Linked DNA regions of Homo sapiens: regions 2, 3, 4, 5 and 6 are each linked to region 1. The links are contacts of gene promoters, found by promoter capture Hi-C in blood cells and fetal thymus (Javierre and others, 2016). All regions are on one chromosome and are shown on one strand. The core of a region is centred on a gene start or on the middle of the fragment in contact, and the rest is flanking DNA. Distances in the headings are between cores, read along the strand shown. Region 1 holds the start of NDST3 (N-deacetylase and N-sulfotransferase 3). Region 2 has its middle 240 kb from the start of MIR1973. Region 3 has its middle 160 kb from the start of MIR1973. Region 4 has its middle 120 kb from the start of MIR1973. Region 5 has its middle 35 kb from the start of MIR1973. Region 6 has its middle 73 kb from the start of MIR1973.

Region 1 (2,745 bases), core at 105-2,604:
AGAGGGTAACCTCACACCTTGAATCCAAAATATCTCTTCAGTTGCTGGCCTTCCACTTGTCTTCAGGAGCTGAAACACATGGCATTTGAAAAAAACTGGCGAACAGAGGAAACTCTTGCAGCCTCGCAGCCGCCCTGGTCCAGTGCCAACGGCAGGAGCACCACAGGAAGGGACCGCGCGGGTGCGCCCCACCCTTCCAGCGTCGCCTCGGGGACTCGCACCCCTTTCCCTGGCCGCACAAGACGTTTCATCCTTGGCGGCCGCCGCCAACCCGCCGGGAGGGGCGGTCGGAACTGGCAGGCCGGGGCGGAACCCCCGGGGTCTCCTTGTCGAGGCCCGGGCAGCCAGATCCTCAGGGCCGGTCCGGGCGGGAGCCCGGTCGATGGAGGCGGCTCCCGTCCTCAGCTCCCGCTCCCTCCCCTTCCCCGGGGCGGGCGCGCGCGGGCCGGGAGCTGGGAGGCGGCGGCTCCCGCCCGGGAGGCGGTGGCGAGGGCGGCGGAGGCGCGGCCGGGCGGGTCCCAGGGCCGTGGTTCTCCAGCGCAGGAGTCCCCGGCGCACCCGCTGCGCTCGCCCCGCAGCCGCAGCCTGAGCGGCCGAAGTCGCCACCAGCTGTGTCCGCGCAGATCCCGGGCGCGGAGGGGAGAGGTCGCCCGCTTGTCGCCCCCGCCGGACCCCGGGCACCGCGTAGCACCCAAGCGCCACCCGGACGAGGGGCCCTGGGGAGCGGCTGAGGCCGAAGACCCGAGGGAAGGAGGAGCCCGCGGACGGCTGCAGCCCCAGGTAATCTCCATGGAGGACGGGGCCGGTCTCCTCGCCCAGAAACCCGATCCGGGCGCCTTGGAATGCGGACTCCAGAGGCGGCATCTCGACCAGACAAGTTTCTCGCGGCTTGGAATGAGGGAGTCCTGAAACCGACACTCGTTTTATTTAACCAGCTTTTTTCTCCTGTTTTAAATAAGTTTATTTAGACAATGGAAAGAAAAAAACAAACAGCCTCTTGAGTGACTGTGGGTTTGTAAATATAATCCTAAAAGTTTTTCATGGTGTGGTTATTTGCTTGCTCATATTTATTAACCTGTTAACTCTTCCGCTAGTCAGAAAATTGACATGTAAAATATTCTTTGAGGAACGTTACAAGTTTGCTGTTGTATTCGGGCATCCTGTTATTCATCAGCTTAGTTAGCATCTGTCTTCCCCCGAAGTGGTACCAAAGCCGGTCCCTTGGCGACGGGTCTTGCATGTGACACTCTTGCCCTCTAGTGCCTCACCAGCTTGGTAGCAGTTTGATGGCTAATATTAATAAGATGTTACATAACATGAGAGTACTGGGCCAGGACTGGTGTTGCTACCACTTGTAAAGTCAAAAAGCCTGAGCCGATGGTAACGAGTGGTACTGTTTCCGTTTCTTTTCCATCTATTGCAACTTTCTCAAGCATTTTCAGCTCTGAACTTTAATTCCAGGTAAGTGTATTTATTTATTTATACTGTGCATTAATGCCTCACTCATAAATGTAGGGGCTTTTAAGAGATAACAACTTTGCTTTCAAATAATCTAAAAATTTCAAGATTGAACAAGTGCTTCATTTTATTCTTGAAGAAGAAATATAGAGTATTTTGATTAAATTAAGTGAAACAAAGGACCGTCTCATTCAGGGATGATTTTAAAGCTTCCCTTTCATAAGATTATGGTACTAAAGAAATGACCTCTTGTAATTGTTTAAGATATTCACCAACTTATAATGATTCTGAAGTAGATCTGTTTAACAGAACACATGTCTGTTGCCTTGACAGAATTTTGTAAGGAATATCAGAGACTTTAAACTACCTGCCTATCTACACAGTAATGATCCTCAAAAGGCTTTCTATTTGATGCAGTTTATAGACATTATTTAAAACTATACAATTAATAAAATTAAATGGAAATGGAAAGAATCAATCTAGGTATCAAATACAGAAACTTTAAATTTAAAGAAAACAGATATATCTTCTATTTAATATATCCATTTTGTGGGGGCAGGTAAAAGCAAAGTTACATCTTTAAGGGGTTTACTCAGATCCTTTTTCAAATAGTTTTTCTAATAGCTGGATACTGTTTAAGCATCAGAGTTATTTAATGTCGAAAATGTATTAGTATCTATATTCTTTATAAACATATTGAAATATAGCAACATGTAATCTGGAAGAGTTTAGAAGAAAACCCTTCTAGACAATGCAAACAGCTACATTCTTAATACATTTGTATTAAATTAAAATACAAATCAAATATTGAGATGTGTGCAACTGATCTGGGACACACACTTTTTTTTTGTTTTTTTTTTTTGCCCTTAGAAAATTTCATGTTATCAACTACTGAGCAATGCTGTTCACCACCAGAGAGCAGGATGATATGGCAGAGAAACTCTAGAATATCCGATATTCAGCTGAAGGGAATTTTTTTCCCTTTTTCTTCATCCATACCTTCCTATCAATATTATATTTAAGATGGAGATTTCAAATATAAGTTTGAAGGAGGCTCCTTTTTAAAATAGTACTGAACATATAAAGAGGCTTGCCTAAGATAAGCTCTTTTTTTTCTTTCTCTGGTTAACACAGTATCTACCATTTCTAATTTTGTTATCATTTTTCTTTATCATCTTGATGGTAAAACAGAAGATTTGTTTCTTTGTGTAAATAATGTTAATTTTGAGCTTGTCACATGAGTTAATTTTCTTCATAGTCTTTAAAATGAAGAATTCTTACATTACT
Region 2 (2,745 bases), core at 126-2,625, 2.0 Mb before region 1:
GATTCACGAATTAGTATCTTCAGACTCCTAGGACTCTGCCTGTGTAAGAGGGTGACAAAGGAAGACAGAGATTAGAAAAATGATGGTATTGTATTAGTCCATTTTCACATGGGTATAAAGAACTGCCTGAGACTGGGTAACTTATGAAGAAAAAGGTTTAATTTAACTTAAGCTTTATGAAGGTTAAGTTACCTTCATAAAAGTAAATTATGAAGAAACAGTTCCACAGGGCTAGGGAGGTCTCAGGAAACTTATAATCATGGTGGAAGGTGAAGGGGAAGCAAGCATGTTCCTCACATGGCAGCAGGAGAGAGAGAGCGGGTGAAGAGGGAAGTGAAACTTTTAAACCATCAGATCTGGTAAGAAGTCACTCACTACCATGAGAACAGCATGGGGGATACCATCCCCATGATCCAATTGTCTCCCACCAGGTTATTCCCTCAGCATGTGAGGATTACAATTTGAGATGAGATTTGGGTGGGGACACAAAGCCAAGCCATATCATTCTGCCCATAGCCCCTCACAAATCTCATATCCTTTTTACAATTCAAAACCAATAATGCCTTCCCAACAGTCTCCCAAATCTTATCTAATTCCAGAATTAGCTCAAAAGTCTAAGTACAAAATCTCATCTAAGATAAGGTAAGTCCCTTCCACCTATGAGCCTGTAAAATAAAAAACAGGTTAGTTACTTCCAAGATACAATGGGGGTACAAGCATTGGGTAAATGTTCCCAATACAAATGGGAGAAATTGGCCAAAACTACGGAGCTACAGTACCCACGCAAATTCAAAGCCTGTTAGGACACTGATTAAATCTTAAAGATCCAAAATAATCTCCTTCGACTCCATGTTTCACATCCAGGGCACGCTGAAGCAAGGGGTAGGCTCCCAACGCCTTGAGCAGCTTCAACTCTGTGGCTCTGCAGGGTTCAGCCCCTGCAGCTGCTTTCACAGGCTGGAGTGAGTGCCTGTGGCTTTTCTAGGCACACGGCACAAGCTGTTGGTGGATCTACAATTCTGAGATCTGGAGGACAGTGGCCTTTTTTTCATCAGGCAGTGCTCCAGTGGGGACTCTGTGTGGGGGCTCCAACCCCACATTCTTCCTTGGCCTTGGCCTAGTAGAGCTCCTCCATGAGAGCTCCACCCCTGAGCAGACTTCTGCCTGGACACCTAGGAATTTCCATATATCCTCTGAAATCTAGGCAGAGACTCTCAAAGTTCAACTCTTGTCTTCTGTATACTGTCAGGCCCAACACCATGTGGAAGCCACTGAAACTTGGGGCTAACACACACTGGGGCAATGGCCTGAGCTTACCCTGGCCCCTTTTAGCCATAGCTGGAGCTGTAGCAGCTGGGACCCAGAGCACCACATCCTGAGGCTGCACAGAGCAGCAGGGCCCTGGGCCTAGCCCACCAAACCATTTTTCCTAGACTTCCAAGCATGTGATGGGAGGGGCTGCCATGCAGATGTAAGAAAACCCTGGAGACATTTTTCTCATTATCTTGACTGTAAACATTTGGTTTCTCCTTACTTACGTAAATTTCTGCAGCTGGCTTGAATTTCTCCCCAGAAAATGGGTTTTCCTTTTCCATCACATGATCTGGCAGTAAATTTTCCAAGGCTTTATGCTCTGTTTCCCTTTTAAATATAAGTTTCCATTTCAAATTATGTCTTTGTGAATGCTTATGACTCTATACTTTTAGAAAAAGCCAGGTGACCTCTTGAACACTTTACTGTTTAGGAATTTCTTCCATCGGATACCTTAAATCATCCCTCTCTGGTTTAAACTTCCACAGACCTTTTCCGCTGTTGACAGGGGTAGAATACCACCAGTTCCTTTGCTAAAGCATAGCAAGGGTAACCTTTGCTCCAGTTCCCAATAAGTTCCTCATTACCATCTGAGGCCACCTCATTCTGAACTTCATTGCCCACATCACTATCAGCACTTTGGTCAAATCCATACAATAAGTCTCTAAGAGATTGCAAAGTTTCCTTTATCTTCTTGTCTTCTTCTGAGCCCTCCAAACTGTTTGATTGACTCACAGTTTTCTATGACTGGGGAGGCCTCAGGAAACTTACAGTCATGGTGGAAGGTGAAGAGAAGGCGAGCACCTTTTTTACATGGTGGCAGGAGAGAGAGACCAAAGGGGAAGAGCCCCTTGTAATACCATCAGATCCCATGAGAACTCACTCACTATCATGAGAACAGCATAGGTGAAACCACCCCCATGATCCAATCAGCTCCCATCAGGTCTCTCCCTTGACACATGGGGATTATCAGGATTATAATTTGAGATGAGATTTGGTGGGCACTCTGAGACTGTAGTAGGTATGTTCAGGGAAGGGCTATTAGAAGCAATTAGTTTTACCATTCATTTATCCTAATGTGAATTCCAGAAGTCAGTGATCACACGGAGGCATATATACAACAAGCACACACATACGCACACATGTACATACACACACCATAAAAGTAGCAATATTGTGCCTTGGCCACTGAATGAGTAGTCAATTATCAACTGATGTTTGAAGGATTCAACCTGAAACAACTAGGCTAAGGGAAACAAAAAAAGAACAAGCTTATGATCCAAGTAACGATGATCCTGCACATACTTGTTATATTTTTAGATGATCTGCTGAGGTCAATAAAATTTTTAGTGTTGGAAAATGTTTAAAATGATTCTTTTAGAATCACCCTAAGGATTAGTTGAGGATCATAGCAAAAATGCTCTGATCCTGACT
Region 3 (2,745 bases), core at 68-2,567, 1.9 Mb before region 1:
ATTCCTTTTAAATATTGGAATACACAATATAGTACAAGGAGAGAACCTAAGGAGATAGCTAAAGAAAAGACAATCTGATAGATGCCAATGAGGTAGTTCAGCCAGGAATTGGGCAAGTCAAAAGCCTTACAAGTATCAATCAAGGATGTTGTAGAAGAAGTTCATGTAGTATAATTTAGCATTTATTGAGGATGGGAAATGTTAGCAACATTTGAACTAGATAGCATCTGGAATTTATTCAAATACCATCACCTATTCTTTAAATCAGACTTCAATTTATATTCCTATGTATAATTTACAATAGTATGAATAATCCTCAGAATCATTGTACATTTTTATATCACCCTTTATATAAGATAATGGAATTTTTTTCTCTGCTTTATGACTTCTGAGCTTTTATTATAAACATGGTATATATTAAATCCAAATAATAATTAGGCATTATTTTCTTAAATATGTTTGAAATTTTAAGATTTTACTATATTTACAGAAAAATAACTTAGTTACTATTTTAAAGTTTACAGCAAAGACTGCAAGATTTACATGTGTTTTGTTGTTTTAATTTTGGTTAATCTCTATCACTAAACATGGATAAGAATTTACTCTTTCCGGAAGCCCAGACACACATGAACCTCATTAATTAAAATATAATTCATAAATCCCAAATGTTGGCGGTGTAAAAAAGAAAGTTCTGACACCTCTATATGATCATGATAGGTAACAGTGAGTGAGACATCTTTTTTTCCTATGTGGTATTTTGGGTTGATCTTTAAGAATAATATTGGCCCATAAGCTTCTATGTTTTCCTTCATTATATAAATTTAAAATCACTAGTATACTCTTCTCATGAACCAAGTGTGTCCCTATGCTCTGTCTGAATTTAAATAACTGGAATCATCTGTTATAGAAAAGTTCATTGAGCTGTATTGGGATCTTCCATGTTTGGTTTCTGGAGGGGGTACATTTACTTAAAGCCTTACAGATTATCTTATATAAAATAACATGTTTAATTTTTCTGCTATATATTTTTGAAATTTTTACTTTAAGACTGATTTCACTCAATTTTTCTAAATGTATGTGCACAGAAACGAAAAATATTAACTTACCACTATTTTATTAATAACATAATCATTTTTTATTCTCATTTAAGATTCTGTACCATTATATAACCTTTCTAATATTTTTATGTTAGTACTAGTTTCCTATTTATTATAACTAGATAATTCTGGAAAACCCCACGTTTTATCATAATTTTTACTTTTAAGTTTTATTACTTAAATTTATTATTTTGTTTCATGACTCTGTATGGGTTAGAAATATATACACATTCTCAAATGTTTCAATATTTATTGAATTATAAAATATCCTAAAAGAAAAACTATGTCTCTTTTATATTCTGGAATCTAAAGACTATCAGTGATTTTTCATTACTGAATTTTCATATTGAGCAAAATTGCTCTATGAACCCATTTCTAATGTAGAATAAACTATGGCTTAATAGATAATAGTGGTTACTATTCTGCTGTTACTTCATTTCCTCTGTCTGACTTTTATCCAATAATCCATGTTATTCATCTACCTCCTGTGGGCAGTATTCATTTCTAAGTTACATACATTTTTGTTTTCTGGTGTTTGAGCAAGAACAGTTTTCAGTCCTGCCATTAACTTTAAATTATTGTATTTAGTATTTAGTATTTTTAACAGAAAATGGTAATATATGTATTTATAATTTGAAGTCATAGTACTAGAAATAATGTTGATCTATATTTTATTAATCAGTGTTTTCCTATGATAAAACCTCTTTCTTTAAAATTATGCAACCTAGGTAACATTCTTAAGATGAAAGCTTAATATTGGATCTTTTAAGAGAAATATATTAATCCAACTCAAGTACTGTCCCTAAAAGAATTTTATCTAAGAAGTATTAATGTAAATAATGTGCCTATCAAAAAGGCATTGGAATAATAAACACAATTTGATAAATTAAGCAAATAAAAATAGTCTACGTATATAATATTTTCATAATTATGAGAAATTAAATATGGTTTTAAAAAGTATTTATTAGCTAAAATATTTTATAAGTGATACAAACAGTAACCTAACACTTTAGATAAAACTTTTAGAAATTTAGGACAAAATTGTTTTTCTCTCTAAGAAATTTATAAAAAATATCTTATTTCAGATTGATATATATATATATATATTGCAGGGCAAGTTTATTTCAAACAATCATCTAATTTTTATACAAGGACCCTGGAAATATTCTGAACTTCAGCACTTTCATTCATCAACCCATGGATTGAAACTAGCTAATATAAGAAACAAAAGGCCTGGTGCAGTGGCTCACGCCTGCAATCCCAGCACTTTGGGAGGCTGAGGCGGACGAATCACCAGGTCAAGAGACCGAGACCATACTGGCCAACATGGTGAAACCCTGTCTCTACTAAAAATACAAAAATTAGCTGGGTGTGGTGGCGGGCGCCTGTAGTACCAGCTACTCGAGAGGCCAAAGCAAGAGAATCGCTTGAACCCGGGAAGCGGAGGTTGCAGTGAGCCAAGATCACGCCACTGCACTACAGCCTGGCGAGAGAGCGAGACTCCGTCTCAAAAAAAAAAAAGAAAAAAAAAAAGAAAAAACCCAACAAAACAAAACAAAACAAAACAAAACAAAAATTAATGTACTATTTAGAGTCCACAAAACCTAAGGAAGGTTATAAGAATAGGTTCTTGGTTTAGCTTCCGGAA
Region 4 (2,745 bases), core at 176-2,675, 1.9 Mb before region 1:
CAGGAGATTGAGATCATCCTGGCTAACACAGTGAAACCCCGTCGCTACTAAAAATACAAAAAATAATTAGCCAGGCGAGGTGGCAGGCGCCTGTAGTCCCAGCTACTCAGGAGGCTGAGGCAGGAGAATGGCGTAACCTGGGAGGTGGAGCTTGCAGTGAGCTGAAATCACGCCACTGCACTCAAGCCTGGGCAACAGAGCGGACTCCGTCTCAAAAAAAAAAAAAAAAAGAAAGAAAGAAAGATAGATTACATAGCAAAGAGAAAGGAGGTGTTTTTTGTTTGTTTGTTTGTTTGTTTTAATATAGCCCTCTCTACAGCAGATAAATTCCAAAATTAGTAGTAGTTATTTATCTTTTCCAAAATCCCTTCATGGTCATACAGCGTCTAAGACAGGCTTTGCTCTGCTGTACTTTAAAAATAAGTTGAACTCAACTGGGCATTGTGGCACATGCCTGTAGTCACAGCCACTTGGGAGGCTGAGGTGGGAGGACTGCTTGAGCCCAGGCAGTTTGAAGCTGCAGTGAGCTGTGATTATGCCACCGCACTCCAGCCTGGGCAACAGAGTGAGATCCTATCTCTAAAAAGAAATACTTTTTAAAAATAAGTTTAACTCTGCTCTTGTTTCTTATAATGCATATCCAAAGGCTCATATTGTTGGTCAGCAAAACCAAATAATCATATAAACAACAGTGTCCACATGTTTTAGAAAGCACATTTTTAATAATGTTTAGTGGTGCGTATTCTCTGTGTCTTCACCTCCAAAATACTGAACTTATTGAATATTTGTTCTAAACACAAAATGGCTAGGTGTGCTGGCTCACACCTGTAATCCCAGCAATTTAGGAAGCTGAGGCAGGAGGATTCCTTGAGCTCAGCAGTTCAAAAGTAGCCTGTGCAACATAGGGAGACTTTGTCTCTTAAAAAAAAAAAGAAAAGAAAGAAAGAAAGAAAAAAAACCATATCTAAGCATGTGGCACATGCATTTGGTCCCAGCCACTTGGGAGGCTGTAGTGGAGGATCGTTTGATCCCATGAGGCCGAGGCTGCAATGAGCTGTGCTGAGGCTGCAATGAGCTGTGATCATGCCACTGCACAACCTGGATTGCACAGCCTGGGCAAGAAGAGCAAAATCCTGTCTCAAAAACAAATAAATTAAACAAATAAATAAATACAATATTTCTATACTCAAGGGAAATTCTGACGAATGATTTCCTTCCTTTTTTATAGGTCAGAATGTAAAGTGTGTGGTAGATGAAAGAGAGTGTGATAGGAGGGACACATAGGGGCTTGCATGGGAGGAAAGACTACCCAGATCTGGAAATAAAAAGTGAAGATTTCAGAGGGTTGAAAACAGGAAGTGGAACCATTATTTTAACTACAGGTGGGAGAAGCATATCTAAACACTAGAAAGCCAATATTATGGGAAAAATTATCCTTGAATAGTTCAATTCTGGATATAAGGAGGAAACAAAATTTAGATGTATGGGTGTCAGCAAGGCTGTGAAAGGAATGAAAAATGAGAGCTTGCAAAACCTTATGAGATAAAATTATGAAAATCTAGAAATATAATCCTGTGTCTGATTACATTTTTTTAAAATTACTTTTCTCTCTATCTCTATATGTATGTATATAATCAAAGAAAATATGTGTAAAATCTGTTATGAAAGAGTATACAGCCCATTTTGTACCACAAAATAGAAATTTAATTACCAAAGTTTGTATAGACTGTCAAACATATTTGTTGAGATACAATTAGATACAATATTATAGTCAGTTGTATTAGTATGTATGTTTATTTTGTGTAAAAATATCATTCTTCGGAAAGCAAATTGCAACTAAAGTATCTAACAAGAGACTCAATCTCATTACTTCATAGATTTTATTATACTTTCTCATTATGCAATGAGCTGTCTTGTTATTATTTCTTCCTCAGAGGATCATTAAACATTTACATATATATTTTAATAGCCTGCAGTTTCGATTAGATGGAGGACATTGGCATTATAATTTTGTGAACAGATCACTGTCCTCTGAGCTGGTTTATGTTTGTTTACTGATCTTCCAGCAGATGGTGCCCTTGCAACAGATATTCTTGTTTTTTGTTTTGTTTTTTCATGATTGGGGTAAAAGATGCATCACTACTTTCTCTTTTGTGGTGGTATAATTAATAAAGATATATTTTATGAACATATTGTACCCCTTCTACATTTTTCTCAGTATTTCAGAAACAGCAAGACTGCCTAGGAATATGAATAGATATTATTGCTTGCTTTTCCTGTCTTCCTCCTCCCGAAGAGTTACAGTCATTTGCTCTTCTCACACTCCAAACAGTAGACTGTTTACATTCTATAGTCAAGTATTTTCTGTTACCAGGATTCTGGAGACAGATAGCCCATGGCTTAAAACAGTCCTTAAGCAATCTTTTACCAAATCCTGTGACTTTTCTGTAGAACATTCCTCTGTTATTTTAGCTCCCCATTTGACTCTGGCAGACAGTTCACCTTTTCTATTTCACTGTGCAGTATTGCAGGGGTTATATTACTTCCTTCGTTTGCTTATTTTTTCAGTTGGCTATGTTATTCTGGAAATTGTAACTAATTTGGAGGCATTATCTTACAATTGTTTTTGTAAGGCCAATAGAAATGCAATATAACATTTGCAGCCAGTAAGGCTTAATAAATTAAACATGCTGCTTATAGTTTTAAATCATTTTTTATTCATGTCCAGATGCTAACTTTCTCTTA
Region 5 (2,745 bases), core at 169-2,668, 1.7 Mb before region 1:
CAGCTTTCTCCAGACATGCTGAACCTTCATTTATTTTGTCAAGAAAAATAAACAGCTGCTTTCTTTCTTCCCATGATAAATAAAGTCTTTTCAACTGGAAAGAATAAGATTGGGTCCACATAATAAATTACTATGTCAATAAGGTACTATTGATTCTTGGGGTAATCATCCTTAAACTATGTGGGATAAGATAATTCTGCTAAGTAGATCTAATGTTATTCAGGGGTAATATAAGGTATTTGTATAAAATAAGGAAAAAGGATCATAAATTTTAAAAACTTTATGCAGAATTACACATAATATGTTTTATAACAACCTATGAATGGAACTCCAAAATCAGTAAAATGATTAATTAATATGCATGGAGTGATCCATTGAGACATAGTGCTGTTTTTTGGAAGAGAGGAAGCTTCCTTTGCCTTTTAATCATTGTTATTTTGGACATTTCTTCAGTAGTTTTTAAAGATTAGGCTGCAATATGGAGATAGAAGATAATTGCAAATCTCCCTGTCTTAAAATAAATCTTTCACATTTTTCTGTGTAGTATCTTGCTTAAAAGCATATAAAATTATTGCTTTAGTTTATTTCTTCAAACGTGGTCATTGAATACCATGTTAAATAATAAAATATAAGAAAAAATAATGCTTGTCATATTGAATCTTTAGTTTTATGTATATCCAATTTCTTGTTTCTAAATATGTGGATGAATAGCTTTAAAATATTTTCCTGAGGCGGGTGGATCACGAGGTTAGGAGTTCAAGACCAGCCTGGCCACGATGGTGAAACTCCATCTCTACTAAAAATGCAAAAATTAGCCAGGCGTGGTGGCAGCTGCCTGTAATCCCAGCTACTCAGGAGGCTGAGGCAGGAGAATTGCTTGAACCCGGAGGTTGCAGTGAGCCGAGATAGTGCCATTGCACGCCAGCCTGTGTGACAGAGCAAGACTCTGTCTCAAAAAAAAAAAAAATTCCCAACCATACTGATTCACGTTCTTGATAATTATTCTTGATAATTTTTCTAACAAGCAAGTAATTTTATAACATTTGTCATTAAAAATATTATAGTAAGTCAGTCATAGCACAATTATGTACATGCTAATTACAATCAAAGTCCTGTCTCTATCTCTAAACTCATCCCGAAACAATATACTAAGAAATTCACTTCCCACTTCCAAATTCCTAAATGTTACATTAATGTGCATCTCAGTCTTAATATATTAAAAGCAAAATTGATTATATTTGTCTCCTCTCTACTGCACAAATTAGTTTCTCCTATATTCTTCTCATTTAATTAGCACCTGCAAAACCAAATCTGCAAATAATCGCTTGATTCCTCCTAGTTGCTCTTAATAGATCATCTTTCATCAATTCCTGCCATCAAATATAATTCAAATCCATTTATTTTCACTGCTGACATTAACTCCTACCTGTAGTACTACCATAGCTTTAAACTGACCCCCTGCTGCCAAGCTACAAGCCTTACTCCACGTAATAACTAGGGTGAATTTTTAAACATAAATAGTTTATATTATTCTCCTGCTTAAGATTTATCATGCCAGATTTAACACTTATCAAAACGGCCAAAATCAAGCCCCCAGAGACAAAGGCAAGTAAACAAAATCCTACAGACTATGGATGGTAGCTTACATTTGGATGTAGGGAATGGCATAGGAAGAACAAAATTGGCACAGGGACATCAGCTAATCCCTGATATAAAACTTCAGTCTCTCTGGAATGAATGTAAAATCTGAAGATTTTCTGGAATGATAATAAACAATGGTACTAAATGCGAAAGATAGCAAAGCAGGCACTTAAATTTGATTGTCTTGGGTCTAAGCACCAATTCTTGAGCTGGGTACATAGAAGGAGCATCATTTCAAGGAAACCATCACCAAGATGAAGCACACAAAAAATCATACTGTCATCTAGGACCAACAGAGTAGAGCTTGTCAGCCCTCTTGACAACCATGTATATGTAACTTTTAGAAGAAGCAGAAAGAAAAGAGGTACCATTTTAATTTAGATATTATTTTTATATATAATTGCATAGATTTATGTATACATATGCATAAATATACACAATAATATATAGTGAAAAATAAAATCAGATCAACTTAGAATGTTAAGTGTTTATTGTGCATATAAAAAACCCACTTTATGATCAACTTAGAATGTTAAGTGTTTATTGTGGATACAAAAAAAAAAACACTTCACAAACTGGGAGACTTCATATCAAAAAATGGCACAAAGTCACTGTATTACAGCAATTATAGCACACCTTACCAATCATAAAGGATAAAGTATTTTGACTTTTTAATGATTGACTGCCATGTATATTTTTAGGTAAATAGAGCTGTTTAATCTGATTCATTAATAAGTGATTGGTTTAGTTGGTTTAATTTCATTTAATCATGCTGATAAGGATAAAAAAGCTTATGTTTGTGTTTTATTTATGTTTAAGGTTAGTGTTTTGGGGAAATCAGAATGACTTAAGTTTTGGTTACATGGCTATGGGTGGTTGACTTTAGGGTATTCAGACTGTTATCTCCATTTTTGTTTATTTATTTCTAACAGGACATATATTGTTTATATTCCCTTCTGCCCTTTGAAGGTAATTGAAATGAACGAACAATAGACAGACTAACAGGAGAAAAGGCATATAAATGTATTAACATGCAAGCCAAATCCTTTATATGGTCCTGAAAGCATAGAAAACACAGCAAAAATAGACAAATGGGATGACATC
Region 6 (2,745 bases), core at 85-2,584, 1.7 Mb before region 1:
TTGATTTTTCTCATATTATAAGTTGTTTCATCCTTGTCATGTCATCATTTCTTAATGTAGTTTTCCTTTACACAATGTTTTTATGTTTCAGACACTTTCTTAAATGCTTGATAAATATTAAGTCATTTAGTCCTTGAAGCGTCCCAACAAAAGTTAGGCATTACTATTTATAGATGATAAAACTGGGGCACAAATAGATAAAATAATTTCTTCCAGTTTGCATAACAAGTATATGGGAGAGCTGTGATTTGAATTTAGAAGTTCTGGCTCTAGATTCCAACTTCTTCAAAGAAAGCACTTTTGGTAGAAACATAAGTGCTACAAAATTCTTCAAGGTGTGTGTTCTGGAAATATTTATAGCCATGAAAATACACACCCATAGTGTGGCATTTTATGATGTAATTATAAAGTGGTCTGTAGATACAAACCTGAAGTAAATCCCATGATGTAATGTTAATGGAAAAACTTGCGATTTAGAGTAATCTACTGTAGTATTTATTTCTGGATTCTTAACTTTGTTGTATCTGTTGAATTAATGTTTTCACATCAAAATGATGTTAAATTGATATCCATGACTTGTATGTTCTGAGCAAATTTTCCTTTTCTGTGATACATTTTTATGTTTATTTTTAGCTAATTTAGCTGAAAACATTTTAAAAGTATTATGTTGAAATAAAAGTATTTGTAGAGATAATTTTTGAATAATTTTTATTCTGATGATACTAAATTTTCCACTTAATAGCATGGCATACTTTCTACATTTTCATAAAATATTTTATAAATTTTATGTCATTTTGTGTTTTTCTTATATATCTCATTCCATTCTTATCAAATACCTTTATGTCCTTATTATACACTTTTACACTATTTTAAATGCATTATTCCCCCATTCCTATTGCTAACTATTTATTGCTTAGGTATAAGTAAGCAATTCATTTTGAGATATTTATCTATGTATCTATCTAATGTTTTAGGTCACCTTCCAAAAATTTATTTATGTATTCATTCATTAATTCATTAATTTATTCATTTATTTTAAAATTATATATAGAGTTTCTTATTTTTTCAAAGAAGGGAGAAAAGAGAAGAAAAACTTAAGGAGATTTCATGGTGTCTGTTTGTGCCACTGCTGTCACTTCTAAATTTCTGACTGCATTAAATTGAGGCTGAGGGATACAGAGAGGAAAATAATGGTAAATCACTACACGTTCAATGGTGCTTTAAGTCACGGTGTTCTTTAGTGATTTACTACCTGCTATCTACTTTCAAAGTTCTCAAATAGCTGCTATATTTCTTTTGAATAATTTTGTATGGTTTTATTCATTGAATGGGACAGCTAAAGTATATTTATATCAATTTTTGCCCAGAACTGAAAACCCTGTTATTCACTTTTAAGTTCTTAACATATGATTTAATAAAAGGGATGTGATTTCTTATCATCACTGGCTTTATTCCAATAGATTGCAGGCTTATGGTTGTATAATTAACTCCAAACTCATAAAGTTATACTTATTAAGTATGCACAGTATTTTGTATGCCAATCATACCTCAAGAAAGTGGTTTTGAAAACACTATTAAATATTTATCCTTATTTTTTTGTCTGATAATAATATAGCCAATTCCATTTTCTTCTGTTTTGAAACTCTTCTAAATTTGTTTCATTTAAAAATGTAGTTCAGAGTATAGTTCTTCAGAAATCAGAAAGAAAATGCTTCATAGAACATAAAACATTTTGATAAAACATGTATAAATATACAGACCTTCAACTAGATAATTAACCACTGCTTCTCACAGACATACCCATTAAATGTATGCCCCCTCAACATCTATATCTATTAATATAAAATATTAAGTTCAAGCACAGCAATAAATAGCCAATAAAATCTTTAAGAGAAAAATAAAGGTATACATTTTGATCCACAAGTAGAACTTTTTTCCTTAAAATTGCACTCAAATTACATCCTGTCTTTTGTTTTGTCTCTAATAAAGTGTAAGTCATTTCTACACTGCTCAGAAGAAGAATGATTGGATTCAGAGAGGGTTAGCTTAATGTAATCCATCAAATATTTAATATTAATAGTAGCTGCAAGCAATACATCAACCTTATTTATAATAAATACAAATAGAAGAAAAACAAATGGATAAGACATTGAAATTCTCTTTCCATGCTTATAATGAATTAGTTTCCATGCCCTCAAAGCATATATTGAATACGGTAGGTGGATGTCATTGTAGGGTTATTTTTAATATGCTAATATTTTACTATTGGAGAAATAATATTTTATAATGGTTACTACAAAGTTTTAATTAACATATAATTTATTAAGTACAGTAATCCCTTGGTATCCACGGGGGATTGATTGGTTCAAGGATTTTCTGTGGATACCAAAATCCACAGATGTTCAAGTCCCTTTATATAAATTGTGTAATATTTGCATATAACTTGTGCACATCCTCTCATATACTTAAATCATCTCTGGATTACATATAATACCTAACACAATGTAAATGCAATATAAATTGTTGTTACGTTATACTGTTTAGGGAATAAAGACCAAAAAAAAAAAAGCCTGTACATGTTTAGTACAGATTCACTTTTTCTTTGAATACTTTCTATTCATGGTTAATTGAATCTATGGATGTGGAATCCATGGATAATGAGAAACAATTATATCAATAATTCCTTAAAATTACTAAATTAGAACAATTATATTTTAGAAATATAGAAAGGCAAAATGTTTGCTG

What was found. Contacts are between HindIII fragments. The CHiCAGO score rates a contact against its expected background, and 5 or more counts as called.
Region 2: a fragment that was not itself captured here is called in contact with the fragment with the promoter of NDST3 in region 1 in 3 of 17 cell types (megakaryocytes, M0 macrophages and M1 macrophages); the score reaches 9.3 in megakaryocytes.
Region 3: a contact is called between a fragment that was not itself captured here and the fragment with the promoter of NDST3 in region 1, in 1 of 17 cell types (M2 macrophages). The highest score is 5.6, in M2 macrophages.
Region 4: a fragment that was not itself captured here is called in contact with the fragment with the promoter of NDST3 in region 1 in 1 of 17 cell types (megakaryocytes); the score reaches 11.6 in megakaryocytes.
Region 5: a fragment that was not itself captured here is called in contact with the fragment with the promoter of NDST3 in region 1 in 1 of 17 cell types (M0 macrophages); the score reaches 7.0 in M0 macrophages.
Region 6: a fragment that was not itself captured here is called in contact with the fragment with the promoter of NDST3 in region 1 in 1 of 17 cell types (M2 macrophages); the score reaches 7.2 in M2 macrophages.

The regions. Positions count from the first base shown.
Region 1 is chr4:118,033,132-118,035,876 of GRCh38, forward strand. NDST3 (N-deacetylase and N-sulfotransferase 3) reads left to right here and starts at 1,355. Exons shown (of 14, transcript NM_004784.3): 1 at 1,355-1,461. The HindIII fragment of the contact is 5,573 bases long and covers 1-1,665 here.
Region 2 is chr4:116,058,005-116,060,749 of GRCh38, forward strand. No RefSeq gene overlaps it. Among named protein-coding and RNA genes, the nearest start is that of MIR1973, 240 kb to the right of the region's middle. The HindIII fragment of the contact is 2,410 bases long and covers 171-2,580 here.
Region 3 is chr4:116,134,257-116,137,001 of GRCh38, forward strand. No RefSeq gene overlaps it. Among named protein-coding and RNA genes, the nearest start is that of MIR1973, 160 kb to the right of the region's middle. The HindIII fragment of the contact is 1,053 bases long and covers 792-1,844 here.
Region 4 is chr4:116,178,181-116,180,925 of GRCh38, forward strand. No RefSeq gene overlaps it. Among named protein-coding and RNA genes, the nearest start is that of MIR1973, 120 kb to the right of the region's middle. The HindIII fragment of the contact is 6,350 bases long and covers 1-2,745 here.
Region 5 is chr4:116,333,294-116,336,038 of GRCh38, forward strand. No RefSeq gene overlaps it. Among named protein-coding and RNA genes, the nearest start is that of MIR1973, 35 kb to the left of the region's middle. The HindIII fragment of the contact is 2,022 bases long and covers 408-2,429 here.
Region 6 is chr4:116,371,284-116,374,028 of GRCh38, forward strand. No RefSeq gene overlaps it. Among named protein-coding and RNA genes, the nearest start is that of MIR1973, 73 kb to the left of the region's middle. The HindIII fragment of the contact is 7,978 bases long and covers 1-2,745 here.